Linked DNA regions of Homo sapiens: region 1 is linked to region 2. Evidence: promoter capture Hi-C in 16 types of primary human blood cells and fetal thymus (Javierre and others, 2016). All regions are on one chromosome and are shown on one strand. The core of a region is centred on a gene start or on the middle of the fragment in contact, and the rest is flanking DNA. Distances in the headings are between cores, read along the strand shown. Region 1 overlaps LOC107984495 (a long non-coding RNA gene). Region 2 holds the start of TIGAR (TP53 induced glycolysis regulatory phosphatase).

Region 1 (7,047 bases), core at 3,438-5,937, 560 kb after region 2:
TTCTGATCTTGTGAGTCAATACTCCTTAATAAACTCCCTTTCATATATGCATCTATCCTATTAGTCCTGTCCCTCTAGAGAACCCTAATACAAAAGGTGTTGGTGAGGTGAAATGATCTATAATTTTATGATTAAATCTCAGGCTTATTTTATTTTAGTAGAACATATTTCTAATAACTGCTTTAAAAACTGTCTCCTAGACCCAACATCCAGGGACATTCAGAGACAATTTCAATTGACTCCTTTTTTTTTTTTTTTTCCTGAGTCTCTGGGCTATAACCTTCAGATGTTTTTTGTTTCGTTTTGTTTTTCCCTTCCTTCAAGTGAGACAGGAAAGCTAGAAGGAGCTGAAGTTGGCTAATCGTCCTTCTCTCAGGTAGATAAGGCTCTGGTAAAGTTGGTTCCCTCGGAGAGTAGGCCCTTGAAATGGAGAATGCTTTGGCATTTTAAATGGTTACTTTTCCCCTCACCCCTGCCTGAAACATAAGGGATTTTTTTGTTGGATATTCACTGTGAGAATCTGGTGAGGCTCCTGAAGGTAAAATCCATCAAAGTGTAGTGGGGGAAGCACACTAACACTGCATCTCCAGGAATTACTCTCTCAAGCAAATCCATACTCGACCCCCAGCAATCCATCAGAATTACTGTAAGTGTTTCTGTCCATTTACGGCTGTCGTGGCTTCTGCTTTACAAGAGCTGACCTAGGCTGTGGTTCTCTGTATTCACTTGTCTCTCTAGATTTCAGGGTGCTTCTTTGCCCTGCGATCTCAATTTTCTGATGGCTCTAAGAAAAGTTTGTTTTCCATTTGTGCAGCTTTTATCTTGTAAGAATGGAAGTGATAACTTCTAAGCTCTTCACATGTCATAGCTGAAACTGGAAGTCCTCCATCCTTTTACATTTAATTTTCTTTGTTTCTTTGAAGCTAAGCTGTGTTTCTTGTTTCTTTGAAGCTAAGCTATGTTTCTCGTAGACAGCATATACAAACATACAAAAATTTGGTCTTGTTCTTTTTTATCCAGTCTGAAAACCTGTTCCTTTTGAGTAGGGCATTTAGTCCATTTATATTTTGTGTAATTGTTGGTATGGATTGATATTTGTTATTTTTCTGTGTGTTTTCTATTTTTCTCATTTTTTTGTTATTATTCCTTTGCTCCTCTTTTATCTCCGTCTTTCATGTTAAATGAATATTTTTAGTGTAGCATTTTAATTCCTCTGTTGATTTTTCTGCTGTATTTTTGAGTTATATTCTTAGGTGTTTTAGGAATTACAATGTGCATCTCAACTTCTTGCAATCTAATTCAGAATAATACTACATTAATTCTAAAAATATTGCTGCAATATTTATTTCTTTTCCCTACCCTCCTTTGTTCCATCATTATCGTATCAATTTCTATGTGTGTTATATACCCAACAATACAGTGTTATAAGTTTTGCTTTATACAATTTTATGTCTTTTAAAGAAGAGAAAAAAATTGGAAAAACTATATTTATGGAGTCTTTTATATTTACCCACATATTTATAATTTCTGAACTGCTTCCTTTCTTTCTGTGGATTTGAGTATCTTATGGTGTTACTTTCTTTAAGCCTAAAGGACTTCCATTAGTATTTATCGTGAGGTACATTTGCTAGCAAAACATTGTCTCACTCTTTGGTTACCTGGGAATGTCTTTACTTTGCCTTCATTTGTGAAGGATAGTTTTGATGGATGTAAGTAATTTGTTGACAGATATTTTTCACCATTTCGAATATGTCATTTCACTGCCTTGTGACATCCATTGTTTTAGAATTGATTCATTCGTGTAATTTCTTTTGTTGATATTGTTTATTTATTGTTGTCATACTTTCCTTAAAATTTTAAACATGGTTTCCTGTAGTTCCTTGAACATATTTCTAATAACTGCTTTAAAAACTGTCTGCTAGACCCAACATCCAGGGACATTCAGAGACAATTTCAACTGACTCCTTTTTTTTTTTCCTGAATATGGTCATACCTTTGTGTTGCTTTGCCTGCCTTATCATTTTTTTGTTGAAAACTGGATATTTTACATAGTATATTGTAGCAACTTTGGATTTTAATTTTAATTTGAGTGTTGCTATTGTTATTGTTTTGTATGTTTATTTAATAACTTGTCTGGAAGAAATCTGTGAAGCTTGCCTCTGCAGCGTACATCTATGACTGTCTCTGCTACTGTTTTTCTTGTTTCTTATTCTTTTTTGTTTGTTTGTTTTTGAGACAGAGTCTTGCTCTGTTGTCCAGGCTGGAGTGCAGTGGTGTGATCTCGGCTCACTGCAACCTCTGCCTCCTGGGTTCAAATGATTCTCTTGCCTCAGCCTCCTGAGTAGCTGGGACTATAAGAGCATGCCATCACACCCCGCTAATTTTTTTTTTGGTATTTTTAGTAGAGACAGGGTTTCACTGTGTAAGCCAGGATGGTCTCAATCTCCTGACCTCATGATCCACCCGCCTCGGCCTCCCAAAATGCTGGGATTACAGGCGTGAGCCACCACTCCTGGCCTTGTTTCTTTTTTTTTTTTTTTGAGACCGAGTCTCACTTTATCGCCCAGGCTGGAGTGCTGTGGCATAATTTTGGTTCACTGCAACCTTCACCTCCTGGGTTCAAGCAGTTCTCCTGCCTCAACCTCCTGAGTAACTGGGATTACAAGTGCGCGCCACCACGCCTGGTTAATTTTTGTATTTTTAGTAGAGACGGGGTTTCACCATGTTGGTCAGGCTGGTCTCGAACTCCTGACCTCGTGATCCGCTCACCTCGGCCTCCCAAAGTGCTGGGATTACAGGCATGAGCCACCGTGCCCGGCCAGCTGGCCTTGTTTCTTATTCTTAAGCCTGGCTTCCTAGAGTTGCCCATGTGTCTGCCTAGATTAGCGTTCAGCCAAAGATTGGTCAGAGGTTATGCTCAAATATCTCGAGCCAGTGAGATTTCTACTTTCTGCTGGCAGATTTGTGAGTCAGCTGGAGAGTGCATCAAAATTTCAGGCATTTTCCCCCCAAGTCTGCCGAGGCTTCTCTTTTCCCCTGAGCCCTTGCATCTCCACTGTACATGGGGAAGACTCCACTGGCCAGGAATGTGTGGGTGGCTTAGGATGTTCCCGTTTCTGCAGCATATGCATACGACCTCTGTTTAACTCATAATATGGGGAGAGTTTACTAATCCCCTCATATCTGCTTCACCTCCTGGAACTCCCTGTTAAGTACCCAGCTAGTCACTAGCCCATTGCTTGCTCTGCAGTTTCAGGCCAGAAGAGCTTCTGGTCCTTTCTGATTACTTGCCTCTGAGATCATCGCTTAAATAATACTGCTTCAAGTCAAGGGAACCCCCTCTGGCAGTGACAAAAAAATGCTAGTTTGTAAGATCTGGCTTGCCCTCATTGAACTATCAAACAACAGCACTCTGGTGGCGGGGCAGGGGTGCAGGACTCATACAAATCACCACAGATTCACGCTGATGTTGCTGTAAGTTTAGTAGTTTTCACGAATATAAGCACTTCTCAGTTTGTTGCACGCCTCCAGTCATTTTTGGGAAATGAAATGGTTGTTTTTGACAGTTTTGAGTGGGGACTATAGTTGCTTTTTGAGGAAATAGATTATCGACCTCTTCACACTCTTATGCCAGAAGTTCTTCTCTGGACATCAGGTTTTTATGGTGTCTCTCCCCAGCTGGGAGAGGGGATGTGCAGGAGGGGAGGAGGTCTGGGCTGGAAGCTTTCCAATCTGGACTCAGCTGCAGCCAGTGGGCTCTTACCCTTTGCAGATCTCAGTTCCCTTAGCTGAAAATCAATGGGCGTTGGACAGGGTGACTTGCTGCATTTCCTTCCATCCTGAAAATATTCAGTTTCTAATGGAATTCAGAATTCAGCCAATGTCTTTACATAGGAGATCTAAAAAATTAATTGATCTCACCCTTTCCATGATCTTTGGTGTCATTGTTACATAAAATTGTGCCTCCAAGGAGGTCATATATGTATTTCATCTAAGAAGAGGCAATGGTGCTTTTGACTTCAGTAGAGAGAGGAGGATATTTTTTCCCTCCTTCCTTCCTTCTTCCTTCTCTTCTTGCTTGCTTCTTTTCTTTTCTTTTCCCTCCCCTCCCCTCCCCCTCCCTCCCTCCCTCCTTTCTATCTCTCTCTCTCTCTTTCTTTCTTTCTTTCTCTCTCTCTCTTTTTCTTTTCTTTCTTTCTTTTCAGAGACAGGGTCTTGCTCTGTTGCCTAGGTTGGAGTGCAGTGGCGTTATCATAGCTCACTACAGGTGTGTGCCACTGTATTAGTCCATTCTCACATGGTTATAAAGAACTACCTGAGACTGGGTAATTTATAAAGAAAAGAGATTTAGTTGGCTCATGGTTCCAGGAAGCATGTCTGGGGAGACCTCAGGAAATTTACAATCATGGCAGAAGGTGAAGGTGGAACAGGCACATCCTACATGGCTGGAGCTTGAGGAAGAGAGCAAAAAGGGAAGTGCTATACACGTTTCATTAGTCCCTTTTCATGCTGCTGATAAGACATACCCGAGACTGGGGAAAGAAAGAGGTTTAATTGGACTTACAGTTCCACATGGCTAGGGAGGCCTCAGAATCATGGTGGGGGGGGAAAGGCACTTCTTACATAGTGTGGCAGGAGAGAATGAGAGAGAAGCAAAAGCAGAAACTCCTGATAAACCCATCAGATCTTGTGAGACTTACTATCATGATAATAGCACAAGAAACACTGGCCCCCATGATTCAACTACCTCCCCCTGGGTCCCTCCCATAACACGTGGGAATTCTGGGAGATACAGTTCAAGTTGAGATTTGAGTGGGCACACAGCCAAACCATATCAACTTTTAAACAACCAGATCTTGTGAGAACTCACTCACTATCATGAGAATAGCAAGGGGGAAAATCCTTCCCCATGATCCAGTCACCTCCCACCAGGCTCCTCCTCCAACATTAGGGATTACAATTCGACATGAGATTTGGGTGGGGACACAAATCCAAACCATATCAGCCACCATGCCTGGCTAATTTTTTTTTAATTTATAATTTTTTGTAGAGATGGGGTGTCACTGTGTTGCCTAGGCTGGTGTCATTCTCTTTGCTTTGCTTTTCCCTCTTCCTCTCCTTCCTCCCTCCCTCCCTCCCTTCCTTTTTCCTTTCCTGACACTGTAAGCCTTGACTATGTACCAGGCACTGTACTAGTTGCTTTTTATGTGAATTATTTCATTTACGTCTCACAACAACCTCATCAGGTAGATCCTGTCCCTAACTACATTTTACAGATTAGGAAGCCGAAGAACAGATAAACTTCCTGACATGTTCAAAGCTGAGTAGTTATTTAGTCTCAACCTCTCAATCCCCTTCTACTCTGCAACACCAACTCTACACATAAATTAGACTTTTGGCATCATTGGTCATGTTTTTAAGAGAAGTGGTCCGGAATTGAGAGGTGGGGAGGCTCCTCTGGTTGAGAAACACCAGAGGTGTCTTTCTGCAGTAGGCAGCATGAAAGCTGGATCTGGCTTTAGACTTTAAACAGAGATGCATGGAGGGCCCTGCAGGCAGGGAAAGCAAAGCTGGTATGACACCATTGCTAGAAAGCAAATGCTGGGCTCTTTACAGCCTATTTGTGGGTGAATAGTGAGACATAAGCTTAGAAGGTGATATAGTTTGGCTGTGTCCCCACTCAAATCTCCTCTTGAATTGTAGCTCCCACAATTCCCATTTGTCATGGGAGGGACCTGGTGGGAGGTAATTGAATCATAGGGGTGGGTCTTTCCTGTGCTGTTCTTGTGATAGTGAATAAGTCTCACGAGATTTGATGGTTTGATAAAGGGGAGTTTCCCTGCCCAAGCTCTCTCTTGTCTGCCACCATATAAGACGTGCCTTTTGCCCTCCACCATGATTGTGAGGCCTCCCCAGCCACATGGAACTGTGAGTCCACTAAACCTCTTTTCGTTTATAAATTACCCAGTCTCAGGTAAGTCTTGATCAGCAGCATGAGAAGAGACTAATACAGAAGGGTTGTTTTATCAAAACAAAGCATCTCTCTAAAAATGGTGATGTTCCCTGACCAAATTTTGATGGTGGAGGAATTAGATTATTGGGAAGCACTCTGTAATGAAATGGCCAGGCACTTTTCTTTGTTTTCGCTGGCTTGTAGGAGCTGGTTGGCTCCACCAAACACTAGGCCTAGAACATTCTTGGGCTGACAGAACCCCCTCCTTCACCTTACTACATTTGTTATTTCCTTATTTATTATATTCACGGTCAAGATACTGTGGTTGGGTCTTGTGTGTATGCATGTGCACTCATGGGAAAGCAGAATTATGAGGGAAAAATATCTATACTTTCTAAGCAATTTATAACTGTAAAATAGTAGATACGAAACATTAATTTCATCATTCCCAGATGATTAGATAAATGATAATTCATTGTTAGGTCTTTAATTTATTTTTAGCTGAAGTAACCATGTGGCTTCTTTAGTGGATACCCTTGAACGTATGGTGGCTTTGATTTCTCTATTCCACAAAGAGGGGATTCAGAAATTCGTGACAGCAAAAACAATATCCCACATAAGGTGGCATCAGGTACTCTGTCTCTCAGAGGCCACTTGTGGGGCAGGGGGATGGAGTGAAATCCTCCATTCAGGGCCTGGAGTGGTCACCCACAAGCTTGTGGCTTACAGGTCAAGTCACCCTGAGCCATAGTTACCTCGTCAGTAATACATGGGATTGGCTCTATGACTTCCAGCTCTCTCAGGTCTGTACCTCTGCAGCTCCATCTGAATGACGAAGTCTATTGTTGGCTGCTGGATGGAGAGTAGAAAGTCACTGCTCATGTCTTACTTGTCCTGTTTTGGAAGGACTCCAGATTTGTAAATCCCTTAAAGGAAGTACATGATTTTCAGAAATATCTTCAGGGAGGCCCTGCATTCTAGCCTAATTTTTCAATTGCAGCTATAAGCATGTAGCCTGAATTGGCTCCTGCAATCTCATAGATGTCTCCTTCCCAAACATGCTCACAGAGGCAAAGGTTAGAAGATATGGATCC
Region 2 (6,540 bases), core at 3,743-6,242:
AAATCTGCAGTGTGGTCCATTTCCAAAACAGAAACCTGACTCTGCAGGAATCCGAGTGCTTCTGCCAAGATGTTAAGTCTTAGGATCAGCCATTTATAGGCCCTACAAATATACATCATTCATTTTGTAGGTTATCTCACAGTTCTTAAAAGACATTATATCTTGTTAGCCTGGATTTATACGCTGCAGCATTTCTTCAAAAATCATACAGAAACCTCAATTTCCCTTAATTCCATTTAAGGAATTCAAATTCAACACACAATACTCAGCGTGCTACAAAGGAGGAACAAATCATGGGAAAGCTGTTCTTTAGTGTAAATGAAAATGTAAACCCTCACCTGATATCACGAATACAGCTTAGTCCTAATTCCTTTACACTAATACATTCATTTGCAAATATAGAAGATTTCAAGAGCTAGTAACACAAGACTTTTGGTGGTCTTTCTTTTTTTTTTTTTTTTTTGAGACGAGTTTTACTCTTGTTGCCCAGGCTGGAGTGCAACGGCGCAATCTGGGCTCACTGCAACCTCTACCTCCCGGGTTCAAGAGATTCTCCTGCCTCAGCCTCCCGAGTAGCTGGGATTACAGGCGAGTGCCACTACGCCCAGCTAATTTTTTGTATTTTTAGTAGAGACGGGGTTTCACCATGTTGACCAGGCTGGTCTTGAACTCCCGGCCTCAGGTGATCCACCCGCCTCGGCCTCCCAAAGTGCTGGGATTGCAGGACTTTCGGCTGTCTTTGATCTTTATAAAGTATCTGTACAAGGTATCTTTATACTTTTATAGAGCATTAAAATTTTATAAAAGTATTAGCTTTATAAAAATACTAAATTACAGATGAGCTAATAGTATTTTGCTTGCTTTATTAATATACAGAACAATTATTAGCATTACACAAAAAGTAACTGCCAATAAAAGTACAGTAAGAAAAATCAGTTTTGCTATCAGTAACTTTACTAATTCGGCCAGGTGGGGTGGCTCACGCCTGTAATCCCAACACTTTGGGAGGCCGAGGCAGGCGGATCACCAGAGGTCGGGAGTTCGAGACCAGCCTGACCAAAATGGAGAAACCCCATCTCTACTAAAAGTACAAAAGTAGCCAGGCATGGTGGCACATGCCTGTAATCCCAGCTACTCCGGAGGCTGAAGCAGGAGAATCGCTTGAACCCGGGAGGCGGAGGTTGTGGCGAGCGGAGATCATGCCATTGCACTCCAACCTGGGTGACAAGAGTGAAACTCCGTTTCGTCAAAAAAAAAAAAAAGCAAAAACAAAAAAACTTTACTAATTCATTTTTAAATCATTAAAAGTATATTAAATTTAGTTTGCCAAAAAATTTTAAAGCTTTACGAGCTGCCTAAAAATGGAAGTGAACTTTTCTGAGGATCCGACAAGATGGCCGAGGTAGAGCAGAAGAAGCGGACCTTCCGCAAACTCACCTACCGCGGCACAGACTTGGACCAGCTGCGGGACGGGACGTGTCCTGCGAGCAGCTGACGCAGCTGTACAGTGCGTGCCAGCGGCCGCAAGTGAACCCGGGCCTGCGGCGGAAACAGAACTCGCTGCTGAAGCGCCTGCGCAAGGCCAAGAAGGAGGCACCGCCCATGGAGAAGCCGGAAGTGGTGAAGACGCACCTGCGGGACATGATCATCCTGCCCAAGATGGTGGGCAGCATGGTGGGCGTCTACAACGGCAAGACCTTCAACCAGGTGGAGATCAAGCCGGAGATGATCAGTCACTACCTGGGCGAGTTCTCCATCACCTATAAGCTGGTGAAGCACTGCCGGCCCGGCATCGGGGCCACCCACTCCTCCCGCTTCATCCCCCTCAAGTAGTGGCTCAGCTAATAAAGGCACACATATTTCCAAAAAAAAAAAAAAAAAGGAAGTTAAATGGATGGTTTTGCCGGGGACTCACTGCAAACACCTACAACATTCCAAGGAACCAGACCCTTCAGTAGTGCTGGATAGGTGATGGTAATGCCAACCTACACGTGTTGGAGTTTTCAACAATGCTGTGCCATAAGCTCATGAGAAGTTATAGTCTGACAATGATGATAGACTTGAATTCTGGAATCTTGGGCAGTCTGTTCCAGAAATGATACACACTGGTACTTTCATTTCAAAGTATGAAGAAAGATAAACCACATACAGGAACAGCACAAGATTCCTAACAGGTTCTGTTGAACTTAAATTGCTTTAAAGATTTTTTTGCATTATCTGAAGAGGTAAGTCCAATAAAATTATCTAACTCTTCAAAAAGTCATTACATTTAACTATGGTGATAATGAGTCAAATTTAAAAATCACTTCTTTTCCTGAAAGAATCACCAGGTTTTGGTTTTGAGAACTCTGAAGGCAAGAAGCAGGAGGATCCAGACCGGAAAGCATTGAACCAGCCCTCTCACTCCATCTTCCTACACATAAAACAGAACAAAATAAACTATTGTCATAACTCCACACAATTATATTAAGAGACTAAAAAGTAGCCTCAAAAATGGCTGGTGATGTTCAAGTAATCTACAAATACCGGGTTTTAACAAATTAAGTAGGAAACAAAAGACGGTGAGTGGTAAAGTTGCTTTGGTTAAACTCCTACTTCCTCAACTTGCCATGTGACTTTAAGCAAGTTACAAGGCGTCTCTGTCTCAGCTGCCTCATGTGAAAAATGAGGATATCAGTCCTTAACTCACTAAACTGTCAGATTTTAATTACAACAGTGCCTGGCAAATAATCATTTATTAAGACTTATTTTTTAAATGATTCCTATGAGGGCCTCCGGAATCAAACCCTTTTTAAGCAGCAGAAAGGGAATAAAATCCATATTTATATGACTATTGTCTATTAGGAATCTAAATAGGAATCATCTTACTTTTTAGGGGTTGCCTTACCCCAAATATTCTACAACTTCTGAGTTTTCTTTTTTTTCTTTTTGAGACAGGGTCCCACTGTGTCGCTTAGGCTGGGGTGCAGTGGCCCAATCACAGCTCACTACAGCCCTCACTTCCCAGGCTCACATGATCCAAGTGATCTTCCTGCCTCAGCCTCCCTATTAGCTAGGTTCACAGGCATGCACCACCACAGCCAGCTTTTTTTTTTTTTTTTTGTAGAGAGGAGGTTTCACCATGTTGCCCAGGCTGGTCTTGAACTCCTGTGCTCAAGGGATCCACCCACTTCCGCCCCCCAACGTGCTAGGATTACAGGGGTGAACCACCTTGATGGTCTGAGTTTCAATTATAAATATGACACTGGGCTGGCTGGGTCAGGCGTCTAGAAAGTGCACTAACATTGGAAGAAAGGGTGATCAGGCCTCTAGTTCCTGTTCTGCTACCGATTAGCTGTGTGACCTTTAGTAAGTTAAGAATTCTCCCAAGGCATTCTATACAACCGAGAGGGGTGGGAGAAGAGATAGTGAGGAACTAGATTTCTAAGGTAGCCATTAAAATCCTGCTAATCCTAAACAGACAATTTTAGAGGATTCTTAAGATTATCTTTCTTATAAAGGAAGGACAGGCCAGAAAAGATAGCTGTTAAAGTCAATTGACAAAGTTAAATCATATTAATGTCCTTTGTGAGCTCCATGAATGCAGAAATGGTATGTTATTTATCTGTATGATCCAGTCTACTGGCACACATTACCTACTCAAAATGCTGGTGTGCTGAACTATACGTTCGTATTTGGGAATCAACTGCACTTTTATTGGAGCTTTCTTTATAGAAGTTATTTCTCAGATATATTTCTTTCCCTGTTGCATCATACACTTTACCTGTCCCCCATTTAATTCTCGCATTAAAGTAGTGAGATACGCACTATCATTTGCATATCAGGAAACTTAAGTCCAGGCTACCTGGCTCTTAGCTGGAGAACAGACTCCAACCGAGGTCTACCTTGCCTGAAAAATCTGTGCTCTTAGCAGGGCGCGGTGGCTCATGCCTGTAATCCCAACACTTTGCGAGGCCGAGGTAGTCGGATCACTTAAGGTCAGGAGTTCCAGACCTGCCTGACCAACATGGCGAAACCCTGTCTCTACTAAAAATACAAAAATTAGCCGGGCGTGGTGGCGCATGCCTGTAATCCCAGCTACTCGGGAGGCTGAAGCAGGAGAATCGCTTGAACCCCGGAGGCGGGAGGTTGCAGTGAGCAGAGATAGCGCCACTGCACTCCAGCCTGGGTGACAGAGCGAGGCTCCATCTCACAAAAAAAAAAAAATAAAAATAAAAATCTGTGCTCTTAACTACCCTGATTTTCACCTCCCGTTAACACTTGGCAAATACATAAAGACCTATCAGCATGCAGCTCCGTGTAACGTTATGATAATAAAAACATTTATTTGGGATGATACGGTCTGCTGAGATCAGAGCTGTGATCCTCTTTTCTCTCCCAGAACTGTAACCTCTGGGGAAAAGAAAGAAGTCTCATATATGTGCCTGGGGGGCTGACTGCCTGGGGAAACGAGGGGGAACCTCAGAAACTGAGAGGATAGCGGAAGGCAGCCGGCATCAAAAACATCAGCCATGGACGAGCAATTCTGCAAACTCTTTGCAATCTGCTGGGGAGCAAAATCGGTACCCAGACAAGTCTGTGGACATGTCTGGCACCGTTTTTGGTGCAGCCACCAAGTGCCTACGAACCCCGATCCCTTGCTCCTCCGGGCCTCACTTTATCTGAAACACGGAACGAAGCTATCTAAGACCTGCCGTCGTCCCTCGGGGCTGCTGGGGTGAGAGGAGGGGCGACACGGGACGGCCCCAGGGCAAGCGCCCCGGAAAAAGCGCTTCCAAGCCAGCCCTCCCGGGCTGGAGCGAGCAGGGAGGGGAGAGGGTGGTGGACCCGTTTTCCCTTCACCCGCTCCAACACACTCAAGGAAGAGAGAGAGAAAGACATCCTGCCACAGCCATACTCACTGCCGGACAACAGTCAGAGCGAAGCGAGCCATGTTCCCGGAGCCGCGTCCCGTCGGTGGCCCCGCGCCGCGCTGCCCCTGCACTGCGGGCTACCTCCCCCACACCACTTCCGCCAAGCAGCCGGCCGGCTCCGCCGCCATAGGCCGAGGCGGCCTCGCACGTCATCCCCGAAGGCCACTCAGGGCCGGGCGAGGCCGACGGGGCGGGGGAGACGAGGGAGCCACGGGGGCCCCGCCCAGGGCTGCGGCGCTTGCGCCCCTGCGCGCCGGCCTGTGATTGGCGCGCGGCAGGTGCGGGAGGCCCCGCCCGCGGAGTCCGCGGTAGGATTCCTTCCCTCGATAGCCGGCAGCCTGCGTTCGGGGCAGATAAGGAAGCCGGCGCACTGATTTGTGGTTGTTGCGATTGAGGCTGGAATGCAACCGTTCGTCTTATAGCTGGCCACTGTGATGAACCCCTCACGGGTGTACAGCGACCAACAGACTGTGTTCTATGAGGTCTGTTAGTCCCTAACCTTAGGGACGTAGCGTCGGCCAGGTCTGTAGACTTAGACCCACCCACCCCAACTCCGCCGGGACAGACGCCCTCCGTGACCAAACTTTAGTCGGGCTCCTTTGAGGCCTTTTCTATACTAGACGGCATCCTCGGCCTGCTGAGCCTGGTTTTACCAAAGAATCCTGCTAAGCCTGTTTATCAAGAGAGACCTCACTGTTGATGCTCTCTTCTAAGGCCCTTGATATCTAGTAAAGTTCCTCCTCCCCCTCCCCCAGATAGCTTACCACGTTCTGGTAATTTCCCATCTTCTCTTTCATCCCTTCCATCCCGCCCCCTGGCTATAAATCTCCACTGGTCCCGGTTGTATTCTAGAGTCGAATTCAGTCTCTCTCACCTATTGCAGTAGTCTTGAGTAAAGTCTTGCCGTTTTTAACAAGCCTCAGATGAATAATTTCTCTTTAATAGCCTTCAGAACGTTGAGGGAGTTGCTTCATGTTAGATATGAGTTCTAAATTTCTTTTCAAAGAATCAATATGTCAGTATGTTCAATTCTTTGCTTTTTACTTTTAAACTTAACTTCCTCCTAAAGCAACCTTCTCTTTTTTATTTATTTATTTATTTTTTTGAGATGGAGTCTGGCTCTGTCACCCAGGCTGGAGTGCAGTGGTGTGATCTCGGCTCACTGCAAGCTCCGCCTCCCGGGTTCACGCCATTCTGGCTCAGCCTCCCGAGTAGCTGGGACTACAGGCGCCTGCCACCACGCCCGGCTAATTTTTTGTATTTTTAGTAGAGACAGGGTTTCACCGTGTTAGCCAGGATGGTCTCGATCTCCTGACCTCGTGATCCGCCCGCCTCGACCTCCCAAAGTGGTGGGATTACAGGCGTGAGCCACCGCGCCCGGCCACAACCTTTTTCGATTACCTGCTGCACTCTGACTCCTTCCCATTACCTACTCCACCCTGACTCCTTCCCATTACCTACTCCACCCTGACTCCTTCCCATTACCTACGCCACCCTGACTCAGATTACCTGCTCTGTCATAACTGTTTTTCCCGCCAAACCACTCACCCCCATCACTCTCTTTAGATTAGCCAATCGGAATTAGTTTAGCCTGTGCGGTGGGGCACTACACAGCAGCAGGGGCCAC

The links. The method cuts DNA at HindIII sites, captures the fragments that hold promoters and counts their contacts. A CHiCAGO score of 5 or more calls a contact.
Region 1: a fragment that was not itself captured here is called in contact with the fragment with the promoter of TIGAR in region 2 in 1 of 17 cell types (naive B cells); the score reaches 5.3 in naive B cells.

The regions. Positions count from the first base shown.
Region 1 is chr12:3,757,528-3,764,574 of GRCh38, reverse strand. It overlaps LOC107984495 (a long non-coding RNA gene), which reads right to left. Exons shown (of 2, transcript XR_001748964.2): 2 at 6,410-6,879. Among named protein-coding and RNA genes, the nearest start is that of CRACR2A, 7.9 kb to the right of the region's middle. The HindIII fragment of the contact is 1,923 bases long and covers 3,726-5,648 here.
Region 2 is chr12:4,319,665-4,326,204 of GRCh38, reverse strand. TIGAR (TP53 induced glycolysis regulatory phosphatase) reads right to left here and starts at 4,992. Exons shown (of 6, transcript NM_020375.3): 1 at 4,902-4,992. The coding sequence starts at 4,933. It also overlaps the pseudogene RPS15P7. RefSeq lists a silencer at 4,902-5,281 and an enhancer at 4,747-5,400. The HindIII fragment of the contact is 10,388 bases long and covers 1,345-6,540 here.